Regions from separate parts of the Homo sapiens genome. Here region 1 is linked to region 2. The links are contacts of gene promoters, found by promoter capture Hi-C in blood cells and fetal thymus (Javierre and others, 2016). All regions are on one chromosome and are shown on one strand. Each heading gives the region's core, a stretch centred on a gene start or on the middle of the fragment in contact. The rest is flanking DNA. Distances are from core to core; before and after follow the strand shown. Region 1 overlaps MYLK (myosin light chain kinase). Region 2 holds the start of MYLK (myosin light chain kinase).

The links. The method cuts DNA at HindIII sites, captures the fragments that hold promoters and counts their contacts. A CHiCAGO score of 5 or more calls a contact.
Region 1: a fragment that was not itself captured here is called in contact with the fragment with the promoter of MYLK in region 2 in 1 of 17 cell types (endothelial precursors); the score reaches 7.6 in endothelial precursors.

Annotation. Positions count from the first base shown.
Region 1 is chr3:123,738,501-123,744,584 of GRCh38, reverse strand. It overlaps MYLK (myosin light chain kinase), which reads left to right. Exons shown (of 34, transcript NM_053025.4): 6 at 4,584-4,632; 7 at 5,523-5,688. Among named protein-coding and RNA genes, the nearest start is that of MYLK-AS2, 52 kb to the right of the region's middle. The HindIII fragment of the contact is 3,540 bases long and covers 2,986-6,084 here.
Region 2 is chr3:123,882,221-123,889,040 of GRCh38, reverse strand. It overlaps MYLK (myosin light chain kinase), which reads left to right and starts at 4,709. Exons shown (of 34, transcript NM_053025.4): 1 at 4,709-4,835. It also overlaps a transcript of CCDC14 not described here. RefSeq lists a silencer at 4,670-4,829. The HindIII fragment of the contact is 5,860 bases long and covers 1,728-6,820 here.

The sequences.
Region 1 (6,084 bases), core at 3,506-6,005, 140 kb after region 2:
TATCATAAAACGGAGAATTGTTTTAACACCACATTAATACATTAATCATCTTTCTAAAAATGTTCTCTACTTCAGTGGTCTGTAACTTGTCTTGCTATGTTATCTTCTTTTAAAGTTATTTTCTTCTTTCTTTTTTATATAATACATCTTTTTATTTGAATATTCTAGTGTCCACTGTAGACCTGTGCTCTTTCACTTTGCTGTGCTACTTGTACAGCATGATTTTTCATCATTCACTTTTAAATCTAAACATGCATTAGGAGTTAATGCAAGAATCTGCCATTTCATTGTCATCTAATGTGCCTGAGCACTTATGTAAATTGAAATGGTCATGCTTGAACAGTTGCATATTGAAATCCATATTTTTATAATTCACTTTCGCTCTATATCACCGTAATGCTTTAGTTAAGGCTTTACATTTATTTTCTTTTTGAAATTATCACATACGTGTATGTGTGATTAGAAGGGAATTTTGATCAGGGTCGCATGGGGATATCAGTTAATACGTGTTATAAAAAGCGGATATTTGTTCTGATAGAGTGGAGAACCACTATTTTAAGTAATCCTCAAAAAACACTTTGAAGTTGGCTACAAGTAGGGTGACTGCTCCCCACTTTTCCTGGAACAGTCCTAGCTTTCTCCTGCTATCCTGGCATGATTATTAATTGCATCTCTCTCAGTGTTGAGAGTCTCTGTTTGGATGATAAATTATATCACCGCACATTTTTAGAAGCATTTCGGCTCCTTTCAATTTTGATCACATTATTCACTTTTTGAGCAGTATGTTCTGACCCGATTCAGTCTTTCTGTATCACCTGACAAACAGAGCTAGGTCTACCTTATCCCTTCCACCACTGAACTTTCCAATCCTAAGACCTGCCAGCATTCTCTTTTACTTGTCTTTGAAAAATCTAAGATCAAATACCGTCAGTGTCTTGGCCTCTCCTTTTTCTCAGCAACTTGCTTCTGTCCTCACCAGTTCTCTTAACTCATTCTTCTATTTTTTGCATTTCTACTTTAATCCCCTTTCCACTTATTTTTCTACATAACCTTACTGTTCTGCCAGATTTTCATACTTTTACAAAATTAATTTTGCCTTATCTAACAATTTGCAACTTCAAATTTTTCCTATAAATAGACCCTGTTAGTAATTTTAGCCTAAATTCTTTTTGTCTTGATGTGAACTCTCTGTTAACTCATATTAAAATAAGCATCCATCAATTCCATTTTTAGCTGACTGCTTTATGTGATATGTTTTCATCATACCCTCTTACCCTGACATAGAAGTATCTCTCCCCAGCATTCTTTTGCTATTCTTTGGGAAAGTGCCATGTTTTTGCTTTTATTTATTTTTTAAGGAAGAAAGGAATTTAAGCCTTTTGGATTAAGATATTTAGCTCCCAAGACTTTTTAAAATGCTCAGTCTAATTTTTTTTATTGTGGTAAAATATACATACCTAACATAAAATTTACCATTTTAACCATTTTAAAGTGTACAATTGTCATTAAGTACATTCACAGTGTTGTGCAGCCATCACTGCTATCTCATTCCAGGACTTGTTTATTACCCCAAATGGAAACCCCATACCTATTGAGCATTAATTCCCCATCCCCTCCTCCCCCAGCTCCTGGCAACTACTAACCACCATCTTTCTCTATGGATTTGCCTCTCCTGGACATTTCATATGAACGGAATCCTATCATACATGGCCTTTTGGGTCTGAGCTCCTTCACTTAATGCACTTTTTCAATGTCCATCCATGTTGTACCACGTGTTAGTACTTCATTCCTTTTACAGCTGAATAATACTTCATTGTATGGATGCACCACATTTTCTTTATCCATTCATCAGTTAATCAGTCTAATTTTTATAAAATCTTTATTCCCAGATGAAATGAGTGATACAGTAGTGTGGGTAGTACAATGGATGGTACACGGATATTTTGTGATGAAATGTTAGAGACTGGATAATGCTGTTGTATGGAGCGTGTTTAGAAGGCCCTATCCATCCTCTATTTGGATGCCAGATTTTACTTTCTTCCTCCCTGCCCCTTTTTTTGCAACTAGATTATGTTTTTCATGTTTTATTTCTTCTTTACCATTGTATTTATAGGTTTTAGAAAATACAGCTGAATAAAATTACTCAGAGTACCACAACCCCCAAAATAATCAGTATTAATAACATGATACCTTTTCTTGTCATTTTCCTGTCTTTGGGTATTTTAGTTTTACCTAATTATGATCACATTAAATAGGTAATTTTGTATGCTGCACAAAATGTATTTAACAAATATTTAAATACCTACAATGTGCTGGGATTTGTTCCGGATACATCTGATGAGTGAATAAGAAGTTCTAGTGGGGATATGGGTTGGGTCTTTAGCATATAGATGATATTTAAAGCTATGGGACTAAGACCTCCTGGGAGAAATTAGATGGAGCTGGGGAGAGGCCCAGGACTCAGCCCTAGGGTGCCCCAGCATGCAAAGGTTGAGCAGAGAAGGAGGTTGAGAGAAGATGAATAACCTGGTAAAAGCAGGAAAGTCTAGAAGAGAAAGTGCTTTGAAGGGGAGTGGGACCTTGTGTCAGATACTACTGAGCATCTGAGTGAGATGGAGACAGAGTGTCAACCATTGGGTTTGACAAGATTGTGGCTGGGATGGAGCCCAGTGGAGCGGAGAGGATCATAGCCCATTTGGAGTGTGCTGAGGAACGAATGAGATAATATCCTAACATGTACCTGCACGTTTCAGATATTCTTAAACATAATTTAATGGCAGAATAAGATGTCTAATTGTACATTTTACCTGACTACTTATTTTCTTCCTACTGAGTGACATTTATGTTGCTTCTAACTTTCACTATTACAAATAAGATAAAAGTGAATAGCTGTGTAAACTTTCTCTTCTAACTTTAGCGTCGTTTCCTTTGAATGGAGTCACAGAAACGGAGGTGCTGTCCCAAGAGCAGAGCATCTTTAAAGCTTATGATTTTTCCTCACTCAAGTATTTCCAGGAGGACTGGACAGTTGGCTCTGCCTCCAGCAGCATCTGAGGGCCCAGCATCTTGACTGTCAGTTGGGTCCTTTCAAAACAAGTCTCTCCTTTTATCAATTTAGAAGTTCTTTTACTTTTGAATAGAGAATGGAATGACAAAAACCAAAACACTTTCAGGAATGAAAACTAGACACAGCTCACTAAGTAATGTTAAACAGAAATGCCTGTATCGTAATCACCAATTATATGGAGCCACAGCTTAAATGTGATGCCAGTGTTTGTTATTAATCCCTTTTCACTAAAGTTCTGGTGGAATCTTAAACCGGGTGTGGCTGATGAAAATAGCCATGATTTTTCTCCTCCACACCTATGTTCTTACACAGTCATATAAATGTGATCAGAGTCAAAGTTAAGGAAGTTTACTCTTTTGCAGTAAACTCCCTGCAAATTCCCCACAGCAACTGTCTGCTGATATCAGAGGATGACTCTACCCTCCCTGGGATAGGGTTTTATAAACATCCCCAGCTTGCGGCAAAAGAAGAACAACTTTCAGGGTGATCATCATCTCAAAAAAGACCTCTTCCTCCCACCCCACCCCTCAAAATAAAACTCCCACTACTTTAGAGTTATTTCATGGTGACATTGTGAATTGTCCCTCCCAGCTGCAGGAGCTGGATGAAAGGAGCTAACCCCAGCTGCCTTGCTGGCTTTGCTATTTAATGGCCTCCTGCCTAGCACGGCAACAGCTCACCCAGGATCAGCAGCGCCCAGTAGGATAGCGCCTACTATGGCCTCATCATCTCACCTAGGACCGACTGGCAGTGCCCAGCATAGCAGCGCCTTGCCCAGGACTGGCAGTGTCTAGCATAGCAGCGCCTTGCCCAGGACTGGCAGTGTCCAGCATAGCAGCGCCTTGCCCAGGACTGGCAGTGTCCAGCATAGCAGCACCTTGCCCAGGACTGGCAGTGTTCAGTGTGGCAGCACTGCAGATTCTGCAGGAGCTGCTGGCTCCGCTGTAGCTCATCTGCAGTGACCTGTCCTGCTCTCTTTCAGCTTGCTGCTACTTGCCAGGCCTTAAGTGGAAGAATGGAGTGTTGATTGTGTCAGTCAAGAGTAGGTGTGGTAAGAGATAGGCATGGGCCTTTCCCTCCCTCCCTTTAACTGAGAAAATGTTCTGGAGAGGTCCTGAATCACCCCCAAATAATCCCCAAAATGGAAGGTAGAGCGTACTACCCTAACAACTCAGCAGGGTGGTTGAGAGTTTTAGAATCTGGCAGACCTGGGTGAATTTCTGCACTGTTACTGACTTTGTGACCTTGTATGGATGACTTAACTTCTCTGAATCTTATTTCTCTCATCTGTTTAAAAAATAGGATAATGTAGTATCAGCTTCATAAAATTATTGCAAGAAATTCACATGATAATGTATGTAAACACCTACCATAGTATCCATAGTGACACAGCCCATGCTCAGTCAAGATTAATGATCACCATCACTATCCCACCCACCCCTGCTGTTGAATCTTTTTACTTTCATTGCTCCAAGTTGGTGGCTCAGACCTGACTCATCAACTCTTTTTCTTGCAGGAAGTTTTGCGAAGCAGCTTGGTCAGCCTGTTGTTTCCAAAACCTTAGGGTAAGTCCTGGATGTTCAAGACAGAGTAAGGGTTGGATTGCTTTCCTGCTGACTTGAGCAGGATAGGTCTGGGGAGTAAGTCTTGGCTCTCCTAGGTTATAATAACCAAAGGGCGGGAGCCTAGTACAATGAGATGTGTCATTTACACAGCACCTCCTGACCTGGCTGCCTCTGTGATTGGCTCCTTTGACTGGCCCAGCTGCTAAATGTAAGGAAGTGGGAGAGGTGGCCAGAGTCTGCAGTGGACTCTAACAATCAAGGCAATAGTCAGAAGATTGAAATAAGCAAGCCTAGAAGAGGCGGGTAACAGTAGCTGCTGTAACAGACAAGCCTCAAATCACAGTGGCTCAACCCAGGGAAAGTTTGTTTCTTACTCAGGGAAAGTTCAGTTCAGATATCCTGGAACATGGGGAGAGCCTTCCACATTATCTTCCAGGAGCCCAGGCTTCTTCCATTTTATAGTTTCATCTCCTAGGCCCTTGAGCCCCCACTGGGCCTTCTGCATCTCACCAGCAGAGTGGACGAGAGACTGCAGAGCCTCACAGGAGGTTCTTATGAGTCGGCCCTGGAAGTGGCATACAGCTCTTCTGCTCATGGTCTCCTGGCTAAAACCCAGGCTTTCAGCCAGGGCTCAGTGGAATTCAGGCATGCCTAACTGCAAGGAAGGCTAGTAAATGAAGTCTAGCTGCATGCCCAAGAGGTAGAGGAAATAGGTTTTGGTGCCACACATTTTTCTAGAGAGAGCATGAGAAAGTTTCTGAGGCATAAAATTGGGAAGGCTACACTTTGATGGCTTCTGACCTTAACTTAGTGCCTTTGAGTGAGGTGGAGAGAGGATGGTTGAATTGCTGCCTTGTCTGGGACTGGATTCTCTGCCAATTTCCTTACAGGGATAGATTTTCAGCTCCAGCAGTGGAGACCCGTCCTAGCATCTGGGGGGAGTGCCCACCAAAGTTTGCTACCAAGCTGGGCCGAGTTGTGGTCAAAGAAGGACAGATGGGACGATTCTCCTGCAAGATCACTGGCCGGCCCCAACCGCAGGTCACCTGGCTCAAGGTGAGGTTTCTGTCTGCCCTGACCCTGATCCAGCCTGTATTAGTCTGTTCTCATGCTGCTAATAGACATACCCGAGACTGGGTAATTTATGAAGGAAAGAGGTTTAATGGACTCACCGTTCCACATGGCTGGGGAGGCCTCACAATCATGACAGAAGGTGAATGAGGAGCCAAGTCATGCCTTATATGGCGGCAGGCAAGAGAGCATGTGCAGGGGAACTCCTCTTTATAAAACCATCAGATCACATGAGACTTATTCACTGTCATGAGAATAGCATGAGAAAACCCACCCTATGATTCAGTTACCTCCCACTGGGTCCCTCCCACAACACGTGGGAATTATGGGAGCTACATTTCAAGATGAGATTTGGGTGGGGACACAGCCAAACCATATCAT
Region 2 (6,820 bases), core at 3,460-5,959:
ACAGGTTCATAGGCAGAAGGGATTTATTTGTCTCAGATGAGACTTTAGACTGTGGATTTTTGAGTTAATGTTGAAATGAGTTAAGATTGGGAGACTATTGAGAAGGGATAATTATATTTTGCAATGTGAGCAGGACATGAAATTTGAGAGGGGTTGGGGTGGAATTATATGATTTGGATTTGTGTCCCCACCCAAATCTCATGTTGAATTGGAGGAGGGGCCTGGTGAGAAGTGATTAAATCATGGATCATGGGGGTGGATTTCCCCCTTGCTGTTCTCATGATAATAAGTGAGTTCTCACAAGATCTGATGGTTTAAAAGTGTATGGCACTTCCCCCTGCATTCTCTCTTTCTCCTGCCACTATATGAAGAAAGCACTTGGTTCCCCTTCACCTTCTGCTATGATTGTAAGTTTCCTGAGGCTCCCTAGTCATCCTTCCTGTTAAGCCTGAGGAACTGTCAGTCAATTAAATCTCTTTTCTTCATAAATTACCCAGTTTCAGGTAGCTCTTTATAGCAGTGTGAAAACTGACTAATGCAAGTTGAAAGAAAAAGAAGAGCCAGATAAAAGTGAGTGAGGGAAACAGAGCCAGGAAATCTTAGAAGTCCAGCCACCATATATATTTTTTGACACTACTCAGAAACAACAAACGGGAAAGCTTTGTGAAGTTTGAAAAACTGTCTGGACCAAATCTCCTTTTAAAAGTTCAAGAAAACAAAATTCATGTAAAAATGATCAACAAAAAAAATACTAAGGTCAACTCTCATATAGCTACTACAACAAAGTGAATAAAGATCATAATAACCTCCAGAAAGATATTCTCAAAAAAATTAAAGCTATAATGTCCTAGAAAAGCTAATACACACTGAGTGACATGAAACATGAAAGAACAACATACATCAGAATTAGAGAAACTCAGAAATTAGAACAGAACTCACAGAAGAATTAAACGTTTTATTTTTTATTTTTTTTTGGAATTAAACATTTTAAAAAGCATTTGAGAAATAAAGATTGACCTATAAGGAACACAAGAACACATAAATATAACTAATAAAAACTTAAAAGAAAATAAGGTAAAAAGGAGGGAAATTTATAAACTTAAAAACAAATGAAGAAAGAAATTAAAAAGATTTAAGGGAAAGTGACAAATGTTGAAGATAGACAAAAAAGGTTCAATATGCAGATAATAGAAGTCTCCAGAGAAGCAGTCTAAAGCAATCCAAAACAGAACAAATATTTAAGACTTTAATTGAAGAAAATTTTCCTGAAATTAACAAAATATATGTATTTGAAACCACATTTTGAAAGAAATACACACTGTTTACTTTCAAACTAGAATGACCAACAAACATTCTAATAAAATTACTGGATTTGAAAGAAAAAGATAAAGTTATTTGGGCATCTAGGCAAAGTGAGAAGGTGCCGTCTACAAACCAGAAAGAGGGCTCTCAACAGATACTGAATCTGTTGGAGCCTTGATCTTGGACTTCCCAGCCCCCAGAACTATAAGAAATAATGTTTCTTGTTTATAAGCCACTTATTTTGTGTTTTTTTTTTTTGTTGTTGTTGTTATAGCAACCCAGCTGGACCAAGACACCAAGTAGTTTGAATCCAACAAAATTGACCTTCAAGTAAAATGGCATGAACAAACTGTAAGCAACATGCAAGAACTCAGAGCATATTCTTTCCATGAGCCCTTCCTAAGGAATCTAGTAGAGGACAAGCTTTCAGACAACCAAAATGACTAAAGATACATAAACATAAGGAACTAATGGTAAGCATTAAATATATATTTGAACTTTAATTAGGATTAGAATTGTAGAACTGTAAAATTAAGACTAAATTAGGGTTAAATAGGAAGATTATGGTATAGATGGCTATAGAAGCTGATAATTTAGATAGAGTATAACTATAAAAGATGGATAGCATATGCAAAAAAAACTGTTTTCAAGAATCAAAACTGATGATGGTAGTATTAATATTGTTATTCTGAGATTATTATTATATGTTTAATGCAAACTAAAGCAAATTAGTAAATTGGGATATTCTAATTTCATCCTCCCTTTTGTCCTTGAGAACCAGAATTCTCTACATGAAAGAAAAGAGGTCCTAATGTAATATATGTTAAGTAAAAACTACAGTCCTGAAATTAAATTGGAAATAATATAAACTGATGAAAATATTATGAAGAATAATATTTCTCTAGAATATAAAAAAATGAAGTATTCTTTAGTAGCTCTGTCTATTGAAAAGGCCTAGAAACAGTTACCAACCTAGTAACAATGAATACTCCTAGTGCTCATATTGTTATCTTAAAATTTCAACAAAAGAAACTAGAGCTTCTGGCCAGGCGGGGTGGCTCATGCCTGTAATCCCAGCACTTTGGGAGGCCGAGGTGGGCAGATCACGAGGTCAAGAGATTGAGACTATCCTGGCCAACATGATGAAACCCCGTCTCTACTAAAAATACAAAAATTAGCTGGGTGTGGTGGCACGTGCCTATAATCCCACCTATTCAGGAGGCTGAGGCAGGAGAATCCCTTGAACCAGGGATGTGGAGGTTGCAGTGAGCCGAGATCGTGCCACTGCACTCTAGCCTGGTGACAGAGTGAGACTCCATCTGAAAGAAAAGAAAGAAAGAAAGAAGGAAAGAAGGAAAGAAGGAAAGAAAGAAAGAAAAAAAGAAAGAAAAAGAGAGAGAGAAGGAAGGAAGGAAAGAAAAAACAAAAAAACTAGAGCTTCTTGGAGAAATGGCTGATTCCAGGTTTGAGGCAGCAAATGTACAGATGTGCCTGGAACATCTTGTCATATCAGATAGCAAGGAAGCTATCAAAGACTTCTAGGGTCTTTGAAGCTCTTTGCACACTAGTGAGAGAGAGAGAGAGAGAAAAAAAAAAAGACTACTAGAATCTTATCAAAAGGAGCCAGGAGCCATATTGAAGAAGCTCCTACTGGCCAAAGATGGGACAATTTGAGCTCTAATATCGTAGATGGAAACCTATCAAATATATTTAAATTCATGAATTTATAATGATATTAAAGAAATCTAAGAATGACAGAGAATCAATTCCTTAACTTGAAAACTGGGTAATTTTTTTAAAAAAAAGCAGGTATTCATCGTGCCTTTCCTATCTCAGGGTAATCAAATAGTAGATGAGAGGAAGCATCTCCTTATCCACTTATGAACTAATAAATGAAAACAAAATTATTAGAATACCATGATTTTGCAAACTTCAATTAATTAATGAATCTAGGAATTGAGCATCGACGGCTGTTAACCTCAAAAAAGAGCAAACACCAGACATCATGATCATGTACCTCTTGAAGAAAAGAACACACAACCATCTATAATCTTACAAAAGACATCAAACTTCAGTCTGAGGAAGACCCTGGATCAGCTGCCAACTTGCTGTCAATACAGAGGACAGAGAAACATGCTGAATTGCCTCATGAATGTGCAACCCCCAGACTCTGGAAAACCTCACAGATCAAGGGCTTAAGTTATTTAACAAATAATTGTAAGGAAAAGACTGAAAAGGCAAATCAAATTAAAAAAAAAAAGAGTGGGGGGAGGGGTAAGGTGCACCCTTGGAAGATACCAAGAAAAACAAAAGCAGCAGAAGTGACTACATGAAAGTCAGGTTAGTGGTTACTTTTGGGAGGAGGGAGAAAGGGGGTTGTCATTGAGGTAGGGCACATGGAGAGGCTCCTGGGGTGGCTGGCAGAGTTCTATTTCTTGATCCAGGTGGTGATTACAAGGATGTTCCCTTTATAATAATTCACTAGTCTATATATCTATATATTTGTTTTTTGTGGTTTTCTGTATTTATGTTTTATTTTACAATTAAAAAATTTTTAAAAACACTCCTTAACCTGCAGTAAACAGTTTTTTTAAAAAAAACAAAAGAAGGTCCAAGTGAAGAGATCAGAAGCTATAAAATATTTCATATTGGGTGCAAACTAAATATAAAGCAAGCCAAAACCAGAAACACCTCCTCCCCCTCCCCTCCCCCCCCTCCCCTTTCCCCTTTTTTAATTTAAAGAACTTTGTAGGTATCTTCCAAACCAATGAGAGATTCTTAACACACACAAAGGGAGGATGTCAGAGGAACCATGGGGCTGAGTTGCACCACTGGAGGATGTCTGAAAAAAACTACATAGACAACCTTCCAGCACTAAAACTTTAGCCCCATGGTTCCGCTGACATCTTCATTTTACAGATTAGAAAACTGAGGCCCAGAGGCAGCCAGTGTCTCATGCACGCTCACGAAGCTAGCATCAGACCCCGACCTAAGGCCTAGGTCTCCCAGTGTAGGACTAAGACACGCACCAAGACAGTACCAGCCCGCTGACCGCCGCCTGCGAGGAGTTAACTGGGGCGGTGCAGGATAAGTGCGAGGGGGGCCCGGGTCTGGCGCTAGGTTTGGCTGCGGATTCTCCGCTCCGGACTCCGAGGCAGAAGGCGGGTGGGCGTGGCGGGAAGGGCAGCAGGTCCACTCCCCGAGCGCTATGCAAATGTCATGCAAATCAGTGCATGGGGGCTGGAGCGGGTGGTTTGAGTCCTGACCCCGTAGCGCCGCGCTCTCACTCGCTCTCCTCAGCGCGCGTCCGCTCTCCGCTCTCCCACTTGCTCTCTCTCTCGCCGGTTCGCTCACCCCCGCCCCGCCCCGCCCCGCCCCGCCCTGCCCAGTCCCGGACGCGCCTCGCGGGCTCCCCGCGCCGCCCGGTCGGCAGCAGGGCGCTGAGCGAGCTCGGAGCCCGCGCTGTGCGCCTGCGGCCGGGGCGCCCCGCCGAGCGCCGGTGCCCCGGCTCCCGGGCCGCCTTCGCCGCGCGGGTGAGTGAGCCCGCCCCATGCTTTTGTCCAGGCGCGGGCCCTGGAAGTCAAGGCTCCGAGGGTGGGAGTTCTGGGTGGGGGCTGGGACCCCCACCGTCTGTGCCTCCCGACTCCCCTAATGGAGAGGGGCCCCGGGGTGCGGCGAGGAGTCAGGGGCGTAAGGAGACGACCCCAGTGACGCCAGGCTGCACGAGTTTTCTTTTGGGGAGATGAAGTGCTTGGGGACACTGATGCGATTGCCTTTCTAGGAATCATCCGAAGGGGGTGCCTTTGATTTGAGGGGCGGAGGAGAAGCGGACCCTTCTCCCAGCTCCCAGACCCTCGCTAGAGGACTCGGTGACGGCCTCTGGGAAGGGGGTGCCACGTGAAGGTCCTTCCAGCCCAAATGTGATTCCGGGAAGGTAGGGCGGGGAAGGCGGCCCGCGAGTGCCAGACCTGGCCATCCCAGGCGAAGCTGGGGCGCGGGCTTTGCAGACTTGTTCCTACTCCATACTCCTCATTTAAGCTCCTTACCTCGCTCTGCCTCCTTCGCGTTAACTGGGGTCCCATTGTTGAGGGACCTTGTTCGCCGATGATTGCAGTTGGAAAGTTTTGGATAAACTTCTCAGGAGATGTGAGTTGTCAATGGTTGAGGTAGACCCCTCCCTGGAACTTATGGAACTAAAACCCTTCAAGACCCAAAGGACTGAATTTCTAGGAGTGGCATTGCAGATGTGAAGATGGGCTGATGGGGAAATGGTTTCAAGGATATATATTTTTTTTAGATTGGGGTGTGTGTGTTGGGGTGCGGGGCACTTTCTATTTCGTAGCCAGAAGGAGAAGACCCAGCTCTACTAGAGTCTAGAGGGAGTAAAATTAGCTGTTGTGATTCAGGGAGCTGGGTGGGTGTAGGGAAACACCTGGGCAGTGGGCATGATGCCAGACCTCAGGCCGTTGGTTTTTACCATCCCTCCTCTCCCCAAGTGCAAAGACCAGAGTATATGCAATGACCCGCCCACCCCACAGCCTTTGAGAGCCTGCCCTGGAGCTGCATCCCCCTTCCAAGAGAGGCTGTGTTCTTCTCCACCTGAATGGAATACTTTTTGTCAAAATGCACTTATCAATAAATTATTTCCAGATGGTGGGCTTAGGAGGACCATTTGGGGAACCCCGCCCACACTTCAAAGAATCAGGAATCAACAATGCAAGTCTCTGGGAGAAGTGTAGGTGCATCTGGTGACTTTACTAGGTTCCTACAAGGCATTTAGGGTTCTAATAGAACTGTTTTCTTTTCTCTTAAATTCTTGACCTCCTTCTCTCTTCCGTGATTCTCTTAGTCTCTTCCCCGCCTGCACACTGTGGGACTGTGGAGGATGATGCTGCTGGCACCACAGTGCTCTAGGGCAGCATGGAATTTTCCTTCCTGCCCAGAGTGAGGTTACCCCTTTTTCTCCCACTCTCAGTGGGCCAGGAGCCTTGGGTCTGGGAGGAACCTGAGCAGTTGGTCCTGGGTCCGGAGTGGTTGGACTCTGGATGCTGGATTGGGTAGCGGGTACTCTGGGGACATGCACAAGAGCTTTTTTTGCCAAGATGTGCAGGTCTGTCTCATTGTTCACTGATGATACAAAGGATGCTGGACCTCATTTGCAGCTAAGCATGAGCTTGGAGAACCACCCCACAGTGGGGAAGCATTTATGCTGGTTTATCTCCCATGTTCAGTTTCTTTTGTGTAATAACTGGCTAGCTGAGGAGGAGGGTAGCTGCAGCATTGTAGATGTTTCCTTGTCTTATTTTTATTTTTATTTTTTATTTTGAGACAGGGTCTGGCTCTGTTGCCCAGGCTGGAGTACAGTGGCGTGATCTCAGCTCACTGCAACCTTGACCTACCAGGCTCAAGGAATCCTCCACCTCAGCCTCCTGAGTAGCAGGGACTACAGGTGTGTGCCACCACACCTGGCTAGTTTTTTGGATTTTTTGTAGAGATGGGGTCCTACCATGTTGTCCAT